Linked DNA regions of Homo sapiens: all the other regions are linked to region 3. Evidence: promoter capture Hi-C in 16 types of primary human blood cells and fetal thymus (Javierre and others, 2016). All regions are on one chromosome and are shown on one strand. Each heading gives the region's core, a stretch centred on a gene start or on the middle of the fragment in contact. The rest is flanking DNA. Distances are from core to core; before and after follow the strand shown. Region 1 overlaps PTK2B (protein tyrosine kinase 2 beta). Region 2 overlaps DPYSL2 (dihydropyrimidinase like 2). Region 3 holds the start of RNF122 (ring finger protein 122). Region 4 overlaps ADAM9 (ADAM metallopeptidase domain 9). Region 5 overlaps HTRA4 (HtrA serine peptidase 4). Region 6 overlaps PLEKHA2 (pleckstrin homology domain containing A2). Region 7 holds the start of PLEKHA2 (pleckstrin homology domain containing A2).

Region 1 (2,700 bases), core at 56-2,555, 6.2 Mb after region 3:
GGGTGAAGAAAGTTAATTTCATCTCATGGGAAAGGCAGGATATGAGTTGGACCTTCCAGGCTGGATAGGTTTGCAAACAAGAAGACGTGGGTTGAAAGCTATCAGAAAAACTTAGAATGTATATGAGCAAAACTGCAGGAAAGCCTGAGGCTTGCTGAAGATGTCATCAGAAGTGTCAAGGTTTACAGAGGTGACTACCCACAGGTATGCATAGGACAGATTTGCAGGAAGAAACCCTGGGGCAGCAATCGAGTGACAAATGCATTGATTTTGGCAAGAAGTAGTGTCTTACTCAAGATGGGGGCGATAATGAGGAAAAAGGAGTAGATGAAGGAAGATGTCCCAAGGTGGAATCCACAGGAATTGACAGCCAGTTAGAAGAAAAGCGAATATTGCCTACAATCTTCTCCCGTCAATTGGACGTCAGTGAGGCCACTCATCAAGTCAGGATGAGAAGGTGGGGCTGGAAGGTTCTGGGATCACTCATATGCAGGTAGACAAAGTGGGAAAGTCAATAATGCTTGCTTAACTGTAGCTCAAGAATTCATGGCAAAATTCTGTTCAGTCCCTGCAGTACTGAGCGAATGTCTCCCCGCCTCACACCTCCATATCTCTGCCTATCTAAGACTCCTCTTGGTAAAGCCCACCTCAAGTTTCACCTCCGTCAGGAAGCTTTTCTTCACGGCTGCTGTTCCCTTTTCAGCACATCTGGCTTATTGTAAATGTGCTATGTTTACCCTTTGGGGCTCCAGGTTTCTGGTAAGCTGGAAATAATGCGTTACGCACTTCTTTCCCAGTTGTATTTAGCATAGGACCTGGAATTCTTGGAGGAGGCCATCATTCACCCAGGAGTATGGAAACGAACTGCCCTGGCTGAAGCCCCTGAGGTGCATTCTCTGAGCTGCCTGAGGTGCATCGCATGGAAGGCAGCTTACAGCCTCTGGTGGCAGTCAGTGGCACAGAGGGCAAAGCTGAGCACAAGCCACAGCTCTATCCCTTGCTAGTCATGCACAGACTTATTTCCAACTATCCTGAACCCTGGCTTCTTTCTCTGTAAAACGGGACGCTGATGCAGCTGTTTCAGCGCTGTTGTGAGGACTCCTTGCCAGGTGTTTGTATGTAGAGTGTGTGGAGAGCCCCAGGCCCTGGGACTCAGCTGATACACAGGCTCTTAACTTGGGGGAGCTGCTTGTGCGCATGTGTCAAGACAGGCGGCCGGGCCCTAGTCTAATCTTAGCCCTGCAGCGCCCTGGGTATTTCCTCACTTCCTCATCTCCAGCACGTGGGAGAGTAATCGTGGCCCACAGGACTGGGGGTGGGTGAAGCCACCGGTGAGAATTCACATGAACATGTCCCAGGAACGCCAAGTGACTGTCACAGCCCAGCACATGGCAGGTATTTCTGGGGCTTCAGCCAATCAATAGTCATCATGCAGCCTACTCAGACAGGACATGGGAGAGCCCCTGAGCCTCTGCCTGGCTCCGGGGAGGAGGTCCATGATGAGAAAAAGGAGGACTTGCAAGAAGGGCAGGGGTAGACCCAAATCAGAATCAAGAGGCTCAGAGCAGCAAGAGCAGTCAGAGTCCATTCCCTGCATCCCAGACCATGCGGGCACTCCCTCTTGCCCACTTCCTGCTTGAATTCTTCTAGTGATGAGAAACTCACTCTCTCAACATTTCTGCAACCTGTCCCATTGCTCGGAGCTCTAATTATTAAAAAACCTTCCTTTATATTCATCCCAAATCTACTTTTCTGTAACTTCCTGGGCCTGCTCATGGAGATGCACAGAACAAAACCCATCTCACTTCCACCTCCTGACCTTTCACTAGTGGAAAACAGCTCCTCTGCTCTCCCAGGCCTTCCCTGGACCTGCCTCAGTTCCTCCAAACACTTCTCACGAGACGTCCTCTCTGGCTCCCCTCTCTCCCTCAAAGCTTCCCAAAAGCTGGTTCAAGAGGGGCCCTCAGAACTGGGCTGAAGACCACAGAAGTGCTCTGGCCTGACAGGATGGGCTGGCCCTTGTCCTAGTCCCTACTCCAATGAGGGAATTTGCCCAGGGCCAGTGGGATATCCTGAGTTTTTAGTCATTTTCCACCATGACGAGAACAGGAGTGATGCTATCCAAGGAGCTGCTTCCACAAAAATTCCCAGCTGACTCTGGCCATGAGGGTATCCCTGTTTGTCATAAAGACTTGGGAAGATGCTCCAGAGAGGTGACACTGCCGCACCTACTGAACCTCATTTCCACCCAGCGGTTCAAGATTTCGCATGGGAGTGGTTCTAGATTTCGCATGGGAGCAGTTCTAGATTTCGTGTGGGAGCAGTTCTAGATTTCGTGTGGGAGAAGTTCTAGATTTCACGTGGGAACAGTTCTAGATTTTGCATGGTAACGGCTCTTTGCCTGCATCTGTCTCTCAGAGACAGGCTCCCGAGGCTGGGTCCCTCCTGTCACTGCTGGAAGGGGAGGCTGCTACAAAGGGGGTTTGGCAAGGCCAGAGGGCCCCAAGGAAGTCTTGGTGGGGGGAAAGAAAACACTGCTGGGGTCAGGGTGAAGGTGGGGGTGGGGTGTTGCTTTGCTAAAGGCCCACAGGTGTTGGGAAGGAGGATGAGTAGTGTCAGAGGAGCAGAGAACCCTGCTCCCCACAGTCATCTCTCAGCAAAAACAGAACACCTCCCCTAGGTGAGAAATTCATCCCAACA
Region 2 (2,700 bases), core at 161-2,660, 7.0 Mb after region 3:
GCGCGCCCCGGTCCCTGCCCGCCTGCGCGCCAATCCGCGGAGGCCGCCGCGGCAGCCCCGCGTGGGGTGACTGCGCCGAGCCAATGGCTTCGCTGGCGGCGAGCGCGCGACTGCACCGCCGGCCGGCGCCGCGCAGCCCGGGAGGGCTCCCGGGCCCTCCTCCCCCGCCGTTGCTGGCGCTGAACTCGCCTGGCCCCCGCCCTGGCGCGGCTGAGGACTGGAACGGCGGCGGGCGGGAACCCGGCGGGGAGGGCCCGGCCACGCCCGGCCCCGGAGAGGGCGGCTGCTTCCCGGGAGCGTCCGGGCCCGGCTCCTGGGGGCGGGGAATGGGCGCGGGCCGGGGGGAGGCTGCAGAGACGGGATCTGGCCCGCGTGGAGGCGCCGGGCTGCAGGAAATGAGAGCCCTGAGGAAACCCTTCCAACTCCGAGCCGGGAAGGAGGCATCCGGGGAAGGCTGCGGGGTATGGGAAACCCCGCCCTGAAACATCCTTTTGTGCCTTCCGGCCGCGAGGAACTTAGTAGGGCGGAGGAATGGGGAGCAGCCGCAGCCCGCCGAGGCCGATGTGGCGCGATCTGCGCTCTGTGCGCCCGCTTTACAGTCACGCCCACCTCGGCTCCCTGAGGGGTGCGTGGGGGCGCAGCGCATTTCGCTGGTGCCTGCAGCGCTGTCGGGGGCAGCTGCTGCGATCCCAGCGCCCCGGGGTCCTGAGGGTTTACAGTGCCAGTGGATGGGACCCACACCGCACCGTGGGGCGGAGAGGAGGAGATGAGCTGTGGAGGAGCAAGAAAGGAAGAGTTTATATCCCACAGGAAAGGGAAACTGAGTCTTGGGGAAAACCTACTGAATCGGAGTTAAAATCAAGAGTGTCCTGACTGCCCAGGCAGAGCCTTGTCACTTCAAACGGCACTCAAGGCCCCTTCGTGGTCCTAGCAATTGAGCAGGCCTGGGACCCCTTAGCTTTGCCTGTCCAAGCCATGCTGGGATGCTCTAACTTCAGGGTCCGTGGGAAAGAAAAACGCTGATCCAGTTGATCCTCAGGAATCTACCGAGGCCAACCCCCGTGGGAGGTTGCCCTGGCAGGTACAATAACTAAAACATCTGGACCAGCCCTCGTAGCGCTCGGGCTTCTCTGCTTGAGGTCGAAGGATACATAGAATCCCTACGTAATCATGGGCTGGGGGGTGGGGGAAGAAAGAGTATGTAATTGGCTCACACCTGCTCAGCAAAGCTTAGCTAGATAAATACGGAATAATTCGAGCTGCTGTGGGCCTGACTTCCAATCTTTCTGCCCTTCACCACCTTAGCCACTTTAGGGGAATGTCTGTCCTTCCAGACTCAGAGAAGGTGTAAAATTCTCCTTTTCACTCCTATATCTCTAAAAATCTGAAGTCCCAGAAAGTAGCCGTAGGGCACGCACAAAGTTTCACCGATGGTTAATTCATCCAAGTTCAATTTAGCTGTGCATCTGAAAGAGAAAGTGAAGCACTTCCCCCTCCAGCAATCTGATATGCCGCAAGCAAGGTGAGATGATGTCGGCAAGTATTGCTGTCAACCGGTAATGGTTAAAGTCACGAGTCTGAGAAAGCTTAAAATACGCCTTTCTACTTGGCCTCTCTCTACTTGTGAAAAACCAACAGTCAGTCCCAGCTTTGCGGAGGACAGGGCAGTGGAGAGGAGTGTCCTATTAGCTCACAAAAAAACTACTTGGCAAGGGAGTAAATAAAGAGACTCAAATTAATTTAAAACAAAGTAACCTATAATTATATTGTTTGTATTCTTGTTGTATTCCCTACCCCCGTCCCTGTTGTTTGAGCGTAATGGGTTTAAATATATCTTGTTATTTACCAGTTTACCATAGAATCGTTTGTTTTGTAATAAAAGCTTCCAAGAGCTTGTGTCTGTCTCATTGGCTTCAATTGTATAGCCATTGCTATGAGGTTCTTAGTCCATAATAACTGACGTTTCCACTCGTAAATATCCAAAAATGTAAGGTATAAACTGATTTGTCTGTTCTGACTAGAGCCTAAGAGAGTATTTGGCACATAAAAGATACCAAACAAATGGTTTAAATTGACCGAGGAAGAGAACTGTCTGCAACCTGCATTTCTTACCATATTTACCATTCAGCGCAATGAGGAAAAGTAAAAAAGGGCCGAGGAGAATCTTCCACCTGCTTTGCACTGATGAAGGTGAAAAAAAAAACAAAAAACCACAGGTAAACAGGCCTCACACTTTTACTTCAGAGATCCTTGTAAAAATAAATGAGAGGCTGGGCACAGTGGCTCACACCTGTAATCCCGCACTTTGGGATGCCAAGGCAGGCAGATCAGTTGAGCCCAAGAGTTGGAGACCAGCCTCAGCAACATGGAGAAACCCCGTCTCTACAAAAAATACAAATATTAGAGACTAGGCTGGCCAACATGGTGAAACCCCGTCTGCACTAAAAATGCAAAAATCAGACGGGCATGGTGGCTGGGGCCGGTAATCCCAGCCATTCGGGAGGCTGAGGCAGGAGAATCACTTGAATCCGGGAGGCGGAGGTTGCAGTGAGCCAAGATAGCGCCACTGCACTTCAGCCTGGGCAACAAGAGCGAAACTCCATCTCAAAAAAACAAAAACAAACAAAATAAATTAGCTGAGTGTGGTGGTGGGCACCTGTGGTCCCAGCTACTGGGGGCAGGGGAAGGTTGGGGCTGAGG
Region 3 (2,727 bases), core at 172-2,671:
CCATGTTGCCCAGGATGGTCTCAAACTCTTGAGCTCAAGCAATCTGCCCGCCTCAGCCTCCCGAAGTTTTGAGATTATAGGAGTGAGTCTAGACTGAAACATTTTGAATGCCACACTCTAGTTTACAGAACTTTATTCAGTAAACACTGGAGACCAACAAACGTTATCAAGCAAAGAAATGTTCAGATTTACATTTTACAGAGATAATTGTGACCAGAAGGGATGGACTTGAGAGTGAAATCAGAGCACTGTTTCTTTCAATAGCCGCATGAGAATTTGAGGGGTGGGGAAGACAAGGCACATTAAAATGAAAATTTCTGGGTCCACCCTTTATTGAATCAGAATCTCTGGGTTCAAGGCCTGGGAATCTGCATGTTACATCTCAAACATAGGAGTGATTCTTGTAGGCTCTGAAGTCTGAGCTATAGACTAGAATCAGAATGGCCAGTTAGGAAGCTTTTGCAATTATCCAATTAAGAAATGAAATGTCCTGGGTGCCATGGCTCATGCCTGTAATCCCAGCAATCTGGGAGGCTCAGGCGGGAGGATCACTTGAGTCCAGGAGTTCGAGACCAGCCTGAGCAACATAGTGAGGCCACTCATCTATACAAAACAATTAAAAAGTAGCTGGGCTTGGTGGCAGGCACCTGTGGTCCCAGTTTCTTGGGAGGCTAAGGTGGCAGGACTGCTTGGGCCCAGAAGTTGGAGGCTGCAGTAAGCTATTATTGCACCGCTGCACTCCAGCTGAGTGACAGAGCAAGACTCTAACTCAAAAAAGAAAAAGAGGGCCGGGAGCGGTGGCTCACGCCTATAATCCCAGCACTTTGGAAGGCTGAAGCAGGAGGATCACTTGAGGCCAGGAGTTCGAGAACAGCCTGTCCAACATGGCGAAACCCCGTCGCTATTAAAAATACAAAAATTATCTGGGCATGGTGGTAAGCGCCTGTAATCCCAGCTACTCAGGAGGCTGAGGCAGGAGAATCACCTGAACCCGAGAGGCAGAGGTTGCAGTGAGCTGAGATCGCGCCGCTGCACTCCAGCCTTGGCGATAGAGGCAGACTCTGCCTCCAAATACATAAGTAAATAAATAACAGATCTGTAGGCGGAAAACAATGTGGCAGTAATTGTTCCTTTGCCTTGGTGTCCCTGGGCAAAAGGCAGGCCCCCACTCCGGGGCATCGCTCGTCGCCGCTCCATTCTCTGCAGACCGAAGTTTCCCCAGGCCTGGGAAGACTAAGTGGGAGGCGCCCACCGTGCGAAGATCCTCCCGGCTTCCAGGGAAGGGAGGCTGGGCCTGCAAATAATAGCCGGGGGCAGGAGAAAGGCTCCGATTGGTCGGAGGGAGGGTGACGAACAAGGGGCGGAGTTTTCCTGGGGACTGGTGGGGGAAGTAAAAGGGAGGGGGTGTGCACCGCCGGGTGTCAGTTTCGGAACCCCAGCCAGCTCACCTCTGCGCCGCTGAACCCGATCCGAGCCTCCGGCAAAGGTTTTTCCCTCCTCCCCCGGCCGAGGGCTTCTGCAGCCCGGGCACCCCCGCCCCGCGGCGCCCCACATTCCCCCAGCCCGGGGCCCTTGGCGCGTGCGCTCCGTGCGGCTGTGCTCCGCGGGACTTTGTTTGTTTCCTCCTCGTCCCTCTTTGTTGGGCTGAACACCAGCCTCGTCAAAGCCCCCCACTCCGGAGGGAGTTCGGCTTCTCCAGCAGGGCGGCTGCAGCGCGCTGCCCCGACCCCGCCTGCGGCCCCTCACGCCGCTAGTGCTCCCACCCCGCCCTCCTGGCACCCCGCCTGCGTCCGTTCGCCCGAGGAAGCCAACCGCGACTTCATTGATGCACCCATTCCAGTGGTGTAACGGTGAGTCCCCGGGGCGAGGGCCGAGCCTACGTGGGGCTGGTGGGAGCCGCGGCGCGGGGTGCGAGGTCGGACAGCAGCGCGCTGGTCCTCCCTCGGGAACCAAGTTTCTCCTGAAATGGGACAGTCGAGAAGGCGTCTTGGCGCCCCACTCTGCTCTGCACAGCGCGGAATTTGAAACTATCCAGGTTTCACTCCAGAGCCTGGAAGGGGCCTCCGGACTGGCGGCGGGCCGGGGGCGTGGGAGCCGAGGGGTTCCCGGCCTTTGTGTGGCGGCCCGGCTCTTCTACCCCCTTCCCCTGCCTTTGTGCGCTCAAACTCTGTTCTTTGTTGTGGTTGTTGGAGGAGAATTAAATCCGCACTCGGGCTGGGATCTCCTAGAGGGAGCTCAAGTTCCCGGCCTGAAACTTTGCAGGCTATTGTAAATATGTATACCGTGCAGCGTGCGGGACTGGGCGCGGGGGTAGCTTCCTCTGGCTTTGTTGGTTTCCCACGGGCTGCTGGCGTGGCTTGGGTGCTTGCGGAAGACTGGATTAAAGAGTCGCTTTCGGCCAGGCGCGGTGGCTCACGCCTGTAATCCCAGCACTTTGGGAGGCCGAGGCGGGCGGATCACCTGAAGTCGGGAGTTCGAGACCAGCCTAACCAACATGGAGAAACTCCGTCTCTACTAAAAATACAAAATTAGCCGGGAGTGGTGGCGCATGCCTGTAAGCCCAGCTACTTGGGAGGCTGAGGCAGGAGAATCGCTTGAACCCAGGAGGCGGAGATTGCAGTGAGCCTAGATCGTGCCATTACACTCCAGCCTGGGCAACAAGAGCGAAACTCCATCTAAAAAAAAGCCGTTTTCCTGAGTTGATAAACCCTCGCAGAGAGCTCCGCG
Region 4 (2,783 bases), core at 184-2,683, 5.4 Mb before region 3:
TCTCAGGTACTCCTTTATAGCAACACAGACTAAGACACTTATTAAATGGACAAGGACTGTAAGAGGGAAAAGGTACTTTTAATATCTGATGGGTTAACTCTGACAAATACATACTCAACAATGTAGCCACGCTTTCAAATTATAGCCATTAATCCATCACAAAAACACAAATTTTAAGCAAAATTTCTTAACAGTTAAGAGCTCTGAAAGTCATGCAGACTAACTCCCATTTCCAATTCTGTTCAGTCTATCCGCATGGAATCATGATGTCTTAAGCAGGGCTTGGGTTCTAAAGTCATCACTTGAATTGAAATTGAGTATAATCAAAATTGCCAACACAAATCTCTTAGGAAGACACACCATGTGGGAGTCCAATACATAGTCTCTCGATAAGTCCAACACAACCTCTTTTTCTTCCAGCATTATTACCAATGGCTTAACCCTTACTAACCTCACCTCTAGATGACTATGATACCTTTTTACCTGGTCTCCCTACTCTCATACTCTCCTCCTTTGATCCAATCTATATGTTCATTCACTCATGAGTTTCCTAATACCCCTCAGATTTCTCAAATATAGATTAAGATGAATTATTTACATCTAACTTTTTCCAAGATAACATTGTATATAAAATGTTTATAATTTTGTCTGGTTTGGGATTAAAAAGATACAAACAGCTGCAAACAAGAAACCATAAATTATATCATATCCAATGTACTGCATGTATAAACAGCTTTTAAACTCTTTACCCATCAATCCCTTATATTTCTGTAAGAATCTGTTTTCTTTTGCACAGGACACAACTGGAGAAACTGGTTATTTTACCAAGTTTTGACTGGAATGTTGTGCTTTCCTTTAAGGAATCAAACTTGATTTATAGAACCGATAAAAGCCCCTTGAGAAAACTGGCCACATACCTTGTCTACACAGTCCCTGTACGAGGTTCCTGATCTGTTGTAAATAAAGACTGTCACTATCTACAGTCCCAGGTGTGTCAAGTTATCTTGGGACCTCAAGAGGAGAGGAATTTACCCAACTCATACCTGTATTTAACTGTGCAAACCCATGGCTGAGCTCTGCTTTAAAAAACATCTCAGGTGAGATTCCTTATGGAACAAAGTTCCATCAAAGCCAATTAAAAAGTGCCTATGTGGCAAATAATTATTCTTACTGCAATTATTTCAAACAATCAGGCCAAGCATAATAAGACTAAAGCTTATTTTGCTACCCATCATATCCTATCAGTCCTATCATGATTTGTTTTTAATGAAAATGGAGGACAGGAAAGGGAAAAATTACGTTTCAAGAACTATAGTACACCTGACATTAAATTCTAGTCTCATCAGTTGTTTCTGAGTTTTTCCCTGCAATTTGGACTGACTCTGCTTATTTCAGTGAACCAATCAGTGATCTCTAACTGCAGCTCAGAATAAACAAGAGGGATGGCTAATGTTAACATCTGGATCAGTATTCTAATTCTGGGCATATATTGGAATCAGTTAGTGACCCTATATCAGCTGGGTTCCAACAATTGCCCAGTTCATGGAACAGCTTTCTATTTAGTTTACTTGGAATAATTTTACTTATTTGCTATACTGTCATGAAATATATTGCTATTGTAATCTTTGTGTAGGAATGCAGGATAAGCTTACTGAATGTTTTCTTAAATTGAACACTTATTAATTATTAATCTTACTAATCTTCTAGATATCACCTTTTGTGTTGTGAACTCAACAGAACTCAGAGTTGTGAATGGCCCTCAGCATAATGACGTTGTGTGACTGAGCTCCTCTCTACCCCGGATACAAGATACCCTATAGTTAGGCAGGAACATGATTGCCCCTATTCAGCCTGAAGAAGTCACAGAAGATAGATCTTTGTCCCTCTACAATCTTTAGGATTAAGGTTCCCATGTAAAAGGATGAGGGAAAATATGTCAGCAGCACTCAGACCAGACTGACTCCAACTTGAATAGAGGCTGGATAAAATAAGGCTGAGACCTACTGGGCTGCATTCCCAGAAGGTTAGGCATTCTTAGTCACAGAATGAGATAGGAGGTCAGTACAAGATACAAGTCACAGAGACTTTGCTGATAAAACAGTTTGCGGTAAAGAAGCCAGCTAAAACCCACCAAAACCAAGACTGCGAGGAAAGTGACCTCTGGTCGTCCTCACTGCTCATTATATGCTAATTATAATACATTAGCATGCTAAAAGACACTCCCACCAGCACCATGACAGTTTACAAATGCCATGGCAATGCCCAGAAGTTACCTTATATGGTCTAAAAATCCTTGCCCCTTTCCCAGAAAACTCATGAATAATCCACCCCTTGTTTGGCATATAACCAAGAAGCAACTATCAGTATACTCAGCTGAGCAGCCCGTGCCACTGTTCTGCTCGTGGAGTAGCCATTCTTTTATTCCTTTACTTTCTTAATAAACATGCTTTCACTTTTTAAAAAAAAATTCTCTTTAAGTAAATCATTACAGACAAGATTACATATGCTGGCCAGGCATGGTAGCTCAACCCTGTAATCCTAGCACTTTGGGAGGCCAAGGCAGGAGGATCACTTGAGCCCAAGAGCTCAAGACCAGCCTGAGCAACAGAGCAAGACCCTGTCTCTTCAAAAAAATTTAAAAATTAGTGGGGCATGGTGGCACATGCCTGTGGTCCCAGCTACTCAGGAGGCTAAAGTGGAAGGATCACCTGAGCCTGGGAGATCAAGGCTGCAGTGAGCCATGATTATGCAACTGCACTCCAGCCTGAGCAACAGAGGGAGAC
Region 5 (2,700 bases), core at 167-2,666, 5.4 Mb before region 3:
GACAATAATGCAAGCCACATACATAATTTTAAATTTTCTTGTAGCCACATTTTTAAAAATTTTTAAATAGATGAATTTAATTTAATAATATATCTTATTTAATACAATATATCCAAATATTATCATTTAACGTGATATTTTTAAAATAGTTATTTTACACTCTGTTTCCTATGTCTTTGAAATCCACTTGAAATAACACACCCCCCCAATATACTACTATATAATGATAATATTTTTTTTTTTGAGGTGGAGTCTTGCTCTGTCGCCCAGACTGGAGTACAGTGGCGTGATCTCAGCTCACTGCAACCTCTGCCTCCCATGTTCAAGCGATTCTCCTGCCTCAGCCTCCCAAGTAACTGCAATTACAGGCGCACCCACTAATTTTTGTATTTTTAGTAGAGACGGGGTTTCAGTATGTTGGCCATGCTGGTCTCAAACTCCTGACCTCAGGTGATCCACCCACCCTGGCCTTCCAAAGTGCTGGGATTACAGGCATGAGCCACTGCACCTGGCCTGGGTTTTTTAATTTAAATTAAACTTACTTTAATTCAAAATTCAGTTCCTCAGTCACACTGGCCACATTTCATGTGCTCAGTACATACTACATGTAAGTAGTGGCCACTGTATTGGACAGATCAAGTCTGGATCCCCCATGCATTTTACCATGGCACACATTTAGAAAAAGCAAAGGTAGATGACAAAGGCCTTCACTTCTCTTACCTTTGAGCAGCTGTTCCTTCAACCACTTTACATACATAAACCCCAGAACTCACATCAGGGAAATCTGGATAATGCATTTTCAATTCTTCACTAAGGCTAAGAGAAGTGAGAAGATTAGGAAACAATGAATTAGTCTCCTGAGCCCTGGTAAAAGCCTGAAATTCTTAGTAGGTACTCTGTTCTGCTCAAGGTTCACAAGGGCCGAGGAAGATTCCATCAAGCTAATCACAGTCATTCTCCTCTCAGTTCGGGCTGAGCCTCTATCCCAAAGCCTAGAACCACTGGACATTATAAAATACAGCCACAATGAAATAAACTATGTATAGTTAGTGCTGATGCAGGCAGAGGCAGATACATACCCTGAGACAGATAGGGCCTATGGTCACAAGAGTACCTGGCTGTGGTCCAAGTGGCTCAGCTTTTCTGTTAAGACTGTGCAGCTATGGTTTTTGCCTCTGAAAAACAACCCAGACATATTCAAACACATGCTTACGGCACAGTGAGGGACAGCATTTGCAGACCCAGATATTTCTTATTTGAAAACGCCTTTCCTGGAAAGGAAAGTTATGATGTGTTACAACAAAACCTCTTTCCTGTTAGCGCAGCTTAAAAGACACCCATGTCCCAGGATCTCTTTGCCATCACAGCTGTCCTTTCAGGTTACCTGGATGAAACACAGGCTTCAGAGAACCTTTGTCATTAGCACTTACACTCCTCCCACCCACCTCCCACCTCCAGCCCCTGGGTTTCATTTCCACATTAGCTCAATCCAAATACTTCTGGGTACAACTCATGCTTGGTTTGTGCCTAGTCCCCCAATATTGCTGCTCAAATCACCATTATAGGAGCTGAGTACAAATGAGTGACCCAGTAGTCTACAGGATTCAAATGGCTGTCTCCGGGCCAGGCATGGTGGTTCATGCCTGTAATCCCAGCACTTTGGGAGGCCGAGGCAAGCGGATCACTGGAGGTCAGGAGTTCAAGACCAGCCTGGCCAACATAGTGAAACCCCGTCTCTACTGAAAATACGAAAATGAGCTGGGCGTGGCAGTGGGTGCCTGTAGTCCCAGCTACTCGGAAGGCTGAGGCAGGAGAATCGCTTGAACCCAGGAGGCAGAGGTTGCAGTAAACCAAGATCACGCCACTGCACTCCAACCTGGATGACGAGCAAAATTCTGTCTCAAAAACAAAAACAAAAAAATTGCTGTCACCACAAAAGATTGAGTGTTCCTGAAAAGCACAAGACGAAACCAAAAAAAAAAAAATCCCAACTTGCTTTACCTTTCATCTGGTGCTCATGGTATTCTGCCAAGAACTGCCTAACTCGATCTGAAGGAATTGCAAAGGAGATTCCATCAGTCACCCTCAATGAATTGACGCCAATCACATCACCATCCTGGCAAGGGAGGGGACATCATTCAGTCATGAAGTTTTGCAAACTGATGAGTGCAAGACCAGAACAAGCAGAAGAAGGAGTGAAGCTAGTTACTTAGGGTCAGAAAACAGGGCCGAGAGGAACTTTGTACTTCAAAAGAGAGCAACGGATGTTCCTTTATAGGGCAAATAGTGTGATGGGACAGCAAAGGGTAACTGCACATGCGCAGAAGTTACCTTCTTTTCATGGCCAAAGGATCAAGGATGCTGAGGACTTTTTAAAATCTTGAGCTCATGGCTGGGCAGAGTGGCTCACGCCTGTAATCCCAGCACTTTGGGAGGCCGAGGCGGGCGGATCACGAGGTCAGGAGATCGAGACCATCCTGGCTAACATGGTGAAACCCCATCTCTACTAAAAATATAAAAAATTAGCCGGGCCTGGTGGCGGGTGCCTGTAGTCCCAGCTACTCGGGAGGCTGAGGCAGGAGAATGGCGTGAACCCGGGAGGCGGAGCTTGCAGTGAGCCGAGATCGCGCCACTGCACTCCGGCCTGGGCGACCTAGCGAGACTCCGTCTCAAAAAAAAAAAAAAAAAAAAAAAAAAAAA
Region 6 (2,700 bases), core at 170-2,669, 5.4 Mb before region 3:
TTCACAGAAACAGAATGCTGGAGTCTTCTGGAAGGGAGCATTTTACCTGTACGTAGAAGGTCCTGGAGCTTGTTATTATTTCAAACAGGTTGTCCCTCATTAAGAGATCACTAGACAGAGAAAGAGAAAGAATGTTATGGCGTGCTGACATACTCAGAGAGGACTCGATATGTCCTAAGACCCCAGTGCCCTCTACCATAAAAAAGGAAGATGGGTGGGGGGTGGTTCCAAGCCATTCTTCCTTCAGCTCCTGCCTTGAAAAACACTCCAGGGGTTTCCTCTAGCTTCATTTCCTAGAGGGTCTCAGGAGGCTTTGCCATCCAGATGGACCCTCCCCAGGCCCCTCTCCCACCAGCAGTTCTAACAAGCTCCTTTCCCTCCAAAACCTCCTGCCTAATATCCAACCCCACCACCACCATCTCCTACAGTTTCCTTCCTTCCTGCCTCCCTCCTTCCCTCTAAGGTGTATGAAGTGCTTTGTGGGAAGCACCGTTTCGGGTGCTTTTTTGTAGATTATTTCATCTAATCTTCACAACAGCCCCGGGGGGCACTTAAGACTTCCCCCATTTTACAGATGAGGAAACCCAGACCCACACTCAGGGTCAGAGCTTAAATGACTCCTCCAAGTTGCTGGAGATTTGGAACCTAGGTCTGACTCCAGAGTCTCTGCTTTATTTATTTATTTTTTTGAGACAGGGTCTCGCTCTGTTGCCCAGGCTGGGGTACAGTGGTACAATCATGGCTCACTGGGGCTACAGGCACATGCCACCACTCCTGGCTAATTTTTATATTTGTCATAGAGACAGGGTGTTTCCATGTTGCTCAGGCTGGTCTTGAACTCCTGAGCTCAAGCAATCTGCCTGCCTCAGCTTCCCAAAGTCCTGGGATTACAGGTATGAGCCACTGAACCCAGTGAGCCTATGCTTTTAATTACTCCACTGCCATTGGCCTCTCCTAAGGGAGCCAACTCTCCGCTCCCTAAACCGTCTCCTCCACCCTCACAGCAGCCCCATCAACCTCACTCAGCTCCTGCTCCTTGCCTCACTGTGCGGGGCCCAGGAGACAAAGAGCTAAAGAGGAGGAAAGCAAGGGGAGAGGAGATGACCTCAGGGCACTCCTTTAGGGGACACTGCTGGGTGTGGGTTTTGGAAAAGAAATCCTGACTTCTGCAAGGAAGAGGGCGGGGAGTAGATGATGCTCAGTGACAAACCTCAAAGCAGCCCAAGTTATTTCCCAGTGTTAAATGCCTGCCGCGTATATCCCCAGCCACTGCGGGGAATACATAAGGAGTAAAAGATCTAATTCCTACCCAGTGAAAGAACATAAGGGCCAGGCGCAGTGGCTTACGCCTGTAATCCCAGCACTTTGGGAGGCCAAGGCAGGCAAATCACTTGAGTTCTAGGCCAGCCTGGACAACATGGTGAACCTTGTTCTCTATAAAAAAAAATACAAAACTGAGTCAGGTGTGGTGGCACACATCTATAGTCCCAGCTACTCGGGAGGCTGAGGCGGGAGGATCACCTGAGCCTGGGAGGCAGAGGCTGCAGTGAACTGAGATTGCACTCCAATCTGGGGACAGAGCAAGACTCTATCTCAACAACAACAAAAAAAGAACATAAGGAAGCAAAACTGTACCATCAGATGTTAGATTGTGTGTTATATGCCAAGAGTTGGAAAGGACTGATCACAGGTGGGGTTGGCTTTATGAATGAGAAAGCCTGCAAGAAAATGGCACTACCTCGGCCAGTGCCACAGGTACCTGGGCAAAGGAGTGCATGAGACCAGAGATCCATGAGCAAGAACAACAGGATAGGGGCCAGATAGACCTGGGGTGAATCCTGACTACATGTAGGGAAGAGATGTTTGAGAATGTTGTAAAAACTTGGGGAGCCTTTGTGACCCCAGGTATAAAACAGAGACAAATAAGAGGACCCCCTTGATCAGGCTGGTCACTACAAAGACCAGTTAGTTATAAGGTACAGAAGGCATCCGGCATAATGTATGTCACAGAATAGTCACTTGAAGCAAATTTCACCAACTATGATTACTTTCTGAGTTTCTGAATAAAAAATGCCTCTTTCTGGCTAAAATGTCTTAGCCTTTCAAATTCTACTCATGCATAGCCAGTAAAGTCACATAAACAACTATTGAGGAGGTGAAAGAAAAGCAGGTGGGAAATCCCCACTCCTTTCACATCTACTTCTCAGGGTGGGAAGGGCAGGAGGGGGGTGAGGGATAAAAGACTATGCATTTGGGCACCGTGGACACTGCTGCAGATGGGTGCACCACAATCTCAGAAATCACCACTGAAGAACTTTTCCATGCAACCAAACACCACCTGTTCCCCCAAAACGATAGAAATTTTAAAAAATGTAAAAATTTATTTATTTATTTATTTGAGACAGAGTTTCACTCTTGTTGCCCAGGCTGGAGTGCAGTGGCACGATCTTGGCTCACTGCAACCTCCGCCTCCCGGGTTCAAGCGATTCTCCTGCCTCAGCCTCCCAAGTAGCGGGGATTACAGGCACCCACCACCATGCCCGGCTAATTTTTTGTATTTTTAGTAAAGAAGGGGTTTCGCTATGTTGGCCAGGATGGTCTGGAACTCCTGGCCTCAGGTGATCCGCCCGCCTCGGCCTCCCAAAGTGCTGGGATTGGATTACAGGTGTGAGCCACCACGCCCGGCCTAAAAAGATATAT
Region 7 (2,700 bases), core at 29-2,528, 5.3 Mb before region 3:
GGTCAGATAGATTAAGAACACCATTAGTGCAATCTTGGGACTTCAGCCCCAAGTGCATCTACAGCTCAGCCTTCAGAGCCCCCAGAGCCACAGCTGGCTTTCTGGTGGGGTGCTCTCCCCTCCCTCTTCTCTGCCGTTTACTGTCCTCTGAAAACCCCACTTGGAGCCCTAAAGAAAGAAAGGGGGCGGGCAGGAAGAAGGAATGAGAAGGGGAAGATACATCCTGAACCTGCGTTCACCAAGAAGGAAGGAAGCCAAACCCTAAGGCTAGGGCCTGGGGGCAGGGCTGGCCCCGGGGAGGAGATGTGAGGGTGCTCCGGCCGCAGCGGGCCCTGCGCCCCTCTCTGGGCGTGCAGGGACACTTTTCCCTTCTAAACGGCCTAGCTTCCCACCACCCCCCCCCACACCCTTCTTTTCTCTTTCTTTTTAAAAAAATTTTGGTGAAATCGTCTTTAGGACTGGAGGAGAAAAGGGAAGCGTGTAAGGTGAGGAAGAAGTTGGTGAGAGAGAGAACGACAGCTCCCCTCGAGGGCTCACCCAACCTGGCACCGAACCTGCATTTTAGGGCAGTCCTTTTCACTGTCTGGAGTTCCAGAAGCCCGAAGTCCAGGCTGCACCCAGAGGAAAGGACAGGAGTCCCTAGGGGAGCCTTCTAGGCCTGTCATTTAATAAGGTAGTCGGGGGAGTGAAAGAGGAGTCTCCATGGCCCAATCCGTACCCAAGGGACTTGCCTGGGGACGTTCTCTGCTCTCCTCCCCTCCCGCAGCCCGGGCAGTCGTTGCGGGGTCGGTGCCCCAGCGCCAGAACCCGCAGAGAAGTTTCGCTGCTGCAAACGTGAGAAAATGCAGCTCAGCAGAACTCCCGCCCCCACCCTCTCCGCGGCCCCACCCCCCGCAGCCCGACCCCTGGCGGCGGCGACCTTGGCCACCCGGGGCACTTGGAGGAGGGGCTGCCCTCGGGGCTCTCCCAGAGGGTTGGAGGAGGCCTCCAGGGTCTGCGGCCACCTCCCCTCGCCTGTCAGCCACTAGGACCGGCGTATTCAGCCCTGCGCGCGCGCCCCTCGCGCCCCTAGGCCGCCAGGCCTCCGCCGGGGCGCCCCCTGCACCCCCAGCCCCGCCAGCCCCCGCGCGCCCCTCTGCGCCTCTCCACTCCCGAGCCCGCGAGGGCGCCCAACTTACCCCCCCGTGCAGGGGCCGGGGCTCGGGCGGGGCGCGTTACATCGGGCGGGGTCGCCCCTCCGGCCGCCGGGTCCGCCGCGCTCCAGGGATTTCTGGGTCTGCCTGCCAAACTCTCCGCGCCTCTCGCTCCCCTCGCTCTGGTCTCCCCCAGTGCCCCCTCCTTCTCTCCCGTCCCTCGGCTCTTTTTTCCGGGTTAATTACGTTTCGCATTAAAGCAAAACCCAGCCCCGGATGTGAGTACAATGCTCCGCGGAGCCCGCCGGGGAGGGAGAGGGGTGCCGGGGCGCCGCGGGCTGGGAGGGGGTGCGGCCGGGCGCCGGGGCCGCGCGGGGGAGGCGGGGGCGGGGCGCCCGGAGGCTGCGCCCGAGGCCGCCCGCGTTCCGCGCCTGGCAGGTGGGACCTGCGCGCCGAGACTGCCCCGCGGGGAGGCCCGGCCCCGACGCTCGCTCGGGCAGCAGGTGTCCGGGCAGGGGGCGTCCTCGCAGGAGGAGGCGAGCTGGAGCGCGAGCTCCCTCAAGAACCCCATTTCCTCCTCCCAGAGCCCCACCCAGCGACCTCAGCTGGGCCTCCTTCGGATCCCGAGCCCTTAGCCTTTGGGGACCGAGGAGTTGGGGTAAGGGTTAGGGTCCCAAGAAGAGTGGCTTCTTCAGGTTGTCCTAAATGTGCCCTAAGAGACCAGTGGGCGGGAACGCTCTAACCAGGGTTATAAGGACTTTAATTTCTTTATTTTATTTTATTTTTTAATCAAGACAGGGTCTGGCTCTGTCGCCCAGGCTGGAGTGCGGTGGCGCAGTCATAGCTCACTGCAGCCTCGACCTCCTGGGTCCAGCGATCCTTCTGCCCCAGCCTCCCGAGTAGCTGGGACCACAGGCGCCTACACCGTGCCCGTTGGGACTTTTTCGGTGTGATGCGAAGACTCCCTTCCTGCCCCCAGAGCATGAGGGTGCTCTGGGAAAAAATGGGAAACAGACAAGCATGTGTTACTACGTAAACCTCGCCAAGAGGAACTAAGAGAGCTGCTGTGCGCGGGTCCCGCCCCTGCGCTATCTCATTTGATCCACGCCGCAACCTATGGGTACCAGTCCGGTTCACGGTGAGGAAACCGAGACTCAGACTTGTGAAGTAATTTGCCCTGGGTACCCAGTTAGTAAACGGCAGGTCTGTCAGGTTCTGACTCCGGCCTCCCACGTCGGGAGAGAGACATTTGAATATGCATCAAGTCAGGTGGACAACATCCGAAACATGAAAATGTAGAAGATTCGCGCGGGCCTGCGGGGCCGTGCGCCGGTGTCTGGCGATCCTAATGCAAACGTTGTTAATCAGGTGTAAATCCTACGAGGCTTTGAAAGAGGCAGGCATAAGAAGACGCTGAGGTTCTCCAGGACAAGGACTGGATTTGCAGGAAGGAGGGAGAGGCTGGGGCACATTCCCGGTGTTAACAGAGGAAAGGCGGCCTCTTATGTCTCCACGACCGACCGGAGGCCACAAGGCCTGGGGAGGGGGGCTCGGGCCGATGAGCCAG

Evidence for each region. The method cuts DNA at HindIII sites, captures the fragments that hold promoters and counts their contacts. A CHiCAGO score of 5 or more calls a contact.
Region 1: a fragment that was not itself captured here is called in contact with the fragment with the promoter of RNF122 in region 3 in 1 of 17 cell types (M0 macrophages); the score reaches 10.7 in M0 macrophages.
Region 2: a contact is called between a fragment that was not itself captured here and the fragment with the promoter of RNF122 in region 3, in 1 of 17 cell types (M1 macrophages). The highest score is 5.2, in M1 macrophages.
Region 4: a fragment that was not itself captured here is called in contact with the fragment with the promoter of RNF122 in region 3 in 1 of 17 cell types (M0 macrophages); the score reaches 7.2 in M0 macrophages.
Region 5: a contact is called between a fragment that was not itself captured here and the fragment with the promoter of RNF122 in region 3, in 1 of 17 cell types (M0 macrophages). The highest score is 7.6, in M0 macrophages.
Region 6: a fragment that was not itself captured here is called in contact with the fragment with the promoter of RNF122 in region 3 in 1 of 17 cell types (M2 macrophages); the score reaches 5.1 in M2 macrophages.
Region 7: a contact is called between the fragment with the promoter of PLEKHA2 here and the fragment with the promoter of RNF122 in region 3, in 1 of 17 cell types (M0 macrophages). The highest score is 6.2, in M0 macrophages.

What each region holds. Positions count from the first base shown.
Region 1 is chr8:27,362,453-27,365,152 of GRCh38, reverse strand. The region is part of intron 1 of PTK2B (protein tyrosine kinase 2 beta); the gene reads right to left. Among named protein-coding and RNA genes, the nearest start is that of PTK2B, 38 kb to the right of the region's middle. RefSeq lists enhancers at 690-869, 2,496-2,700. The HindIII fragment of the contact is 1,262 bases long and covers 675-1,936 here.
Region 2 is chr8:26,574,857-26,577,556 of GRCh38, reverse strand. The region is part of intron 1 of DPYSL2 (dihydropyrimidinase like 2); the gene reads right to left. Among named protein-coding and RNA genes, the nearest start is that of DPYSL2, 62 kb to the right of the region's middle. RefSeq lists silencers at 1-430, 471-670 and enhancers at 1-474, 475-1,172, 1,271-1,440. The HindIII fragment of the contact is 357 bases long and covers 1,232-1,588 here.
Region 3 is chr8:33,565,822-33,568,548 of GRCh38, reverse strand. RNF122 (ring finger protein 122) reads left to right here and starts at 1,421. Exons shown (of 6, transcript NM_024787.3): 1 at 1,421-1,850. The coding sequence starts at 1,826. RefSeq lists silencers at 1,537-1,656, 1,707-1,776, 1,807-1,856, 1,997-2,046. The HindIII fragment of the contact is 8,620 bases long and covers 459-2,727 here.
Region 4 is chr8:39,004,240-39,007,022 of GRCh38, reverse strand. All of the region lies in intron 1 of ADAM9 (ADAM metallopeptidase domain 9), which reads right to left. Among named protein-coding and RNA genes, the nearest start is that of ADAM9, 8.7 kb to the right of the region's middle. RefSeq lists an enhancer at 2,736-2,783. The HindIII fragment of the contact is 432 bases long and covers 1,218-1,649 here.
Region 5 is chr8:38,981,069-38,983,768 of GRCh38, reverse strand. HTRA4 (HtrA serine peptidase 4) reads right to left here. Exons shown (of 9, transcript NM_153692.4): 6 at 2,002-2,116; 7 at 1,214-1,271; 8 at 721-816. Among named protein-coding and RNA genes, the nearest start is that of HTRA4, 8.2 kb to the right of the region's middle. The HindIII fragment of the contact is 9,484 bases long and covers 1-2,700 here.
Region 6 is chr8:38,954,733-38,957,432 of GRCh38, reverse strand. It overlaps PLEKHA2 (pleckstrin homology domain containing A2), which reads right to left. Exons shown (of 12, transcript NM_021623.2): 10 at 47-110. Among named protein-coding and RNA genes, the nearest start is that of HTRA4, 18 kb to the left of the region's middle. The HindIII fragment of the contact is 3,095 bases long and covers 1-2,700 here.
Region 7 is chr8:38,899,924-38,902,623 of GRCh38, reverse strand. PLEKHA2 (pleckstrin homology domain containing A2) reads right to left here and starts at 1,278. Exons shown (of 12, transcript NM_021623.2): 1 at 1,179-1,278. LOC124901937 (a long non-coding RNA gene) reads left to right here and starts at 1,179. Exons shown (of 2, transcript XR_007060893.1): 1 at 1,179-1,411; 2 at 1,928-2,700. RefSeq lists silencers at 607-1,276, 1,357-1,766 and enhancers at 2,367-2,616, 2,677-2,700. The HindIII fragment of the contact is 6,068 bases long and covers 1-2,700 here.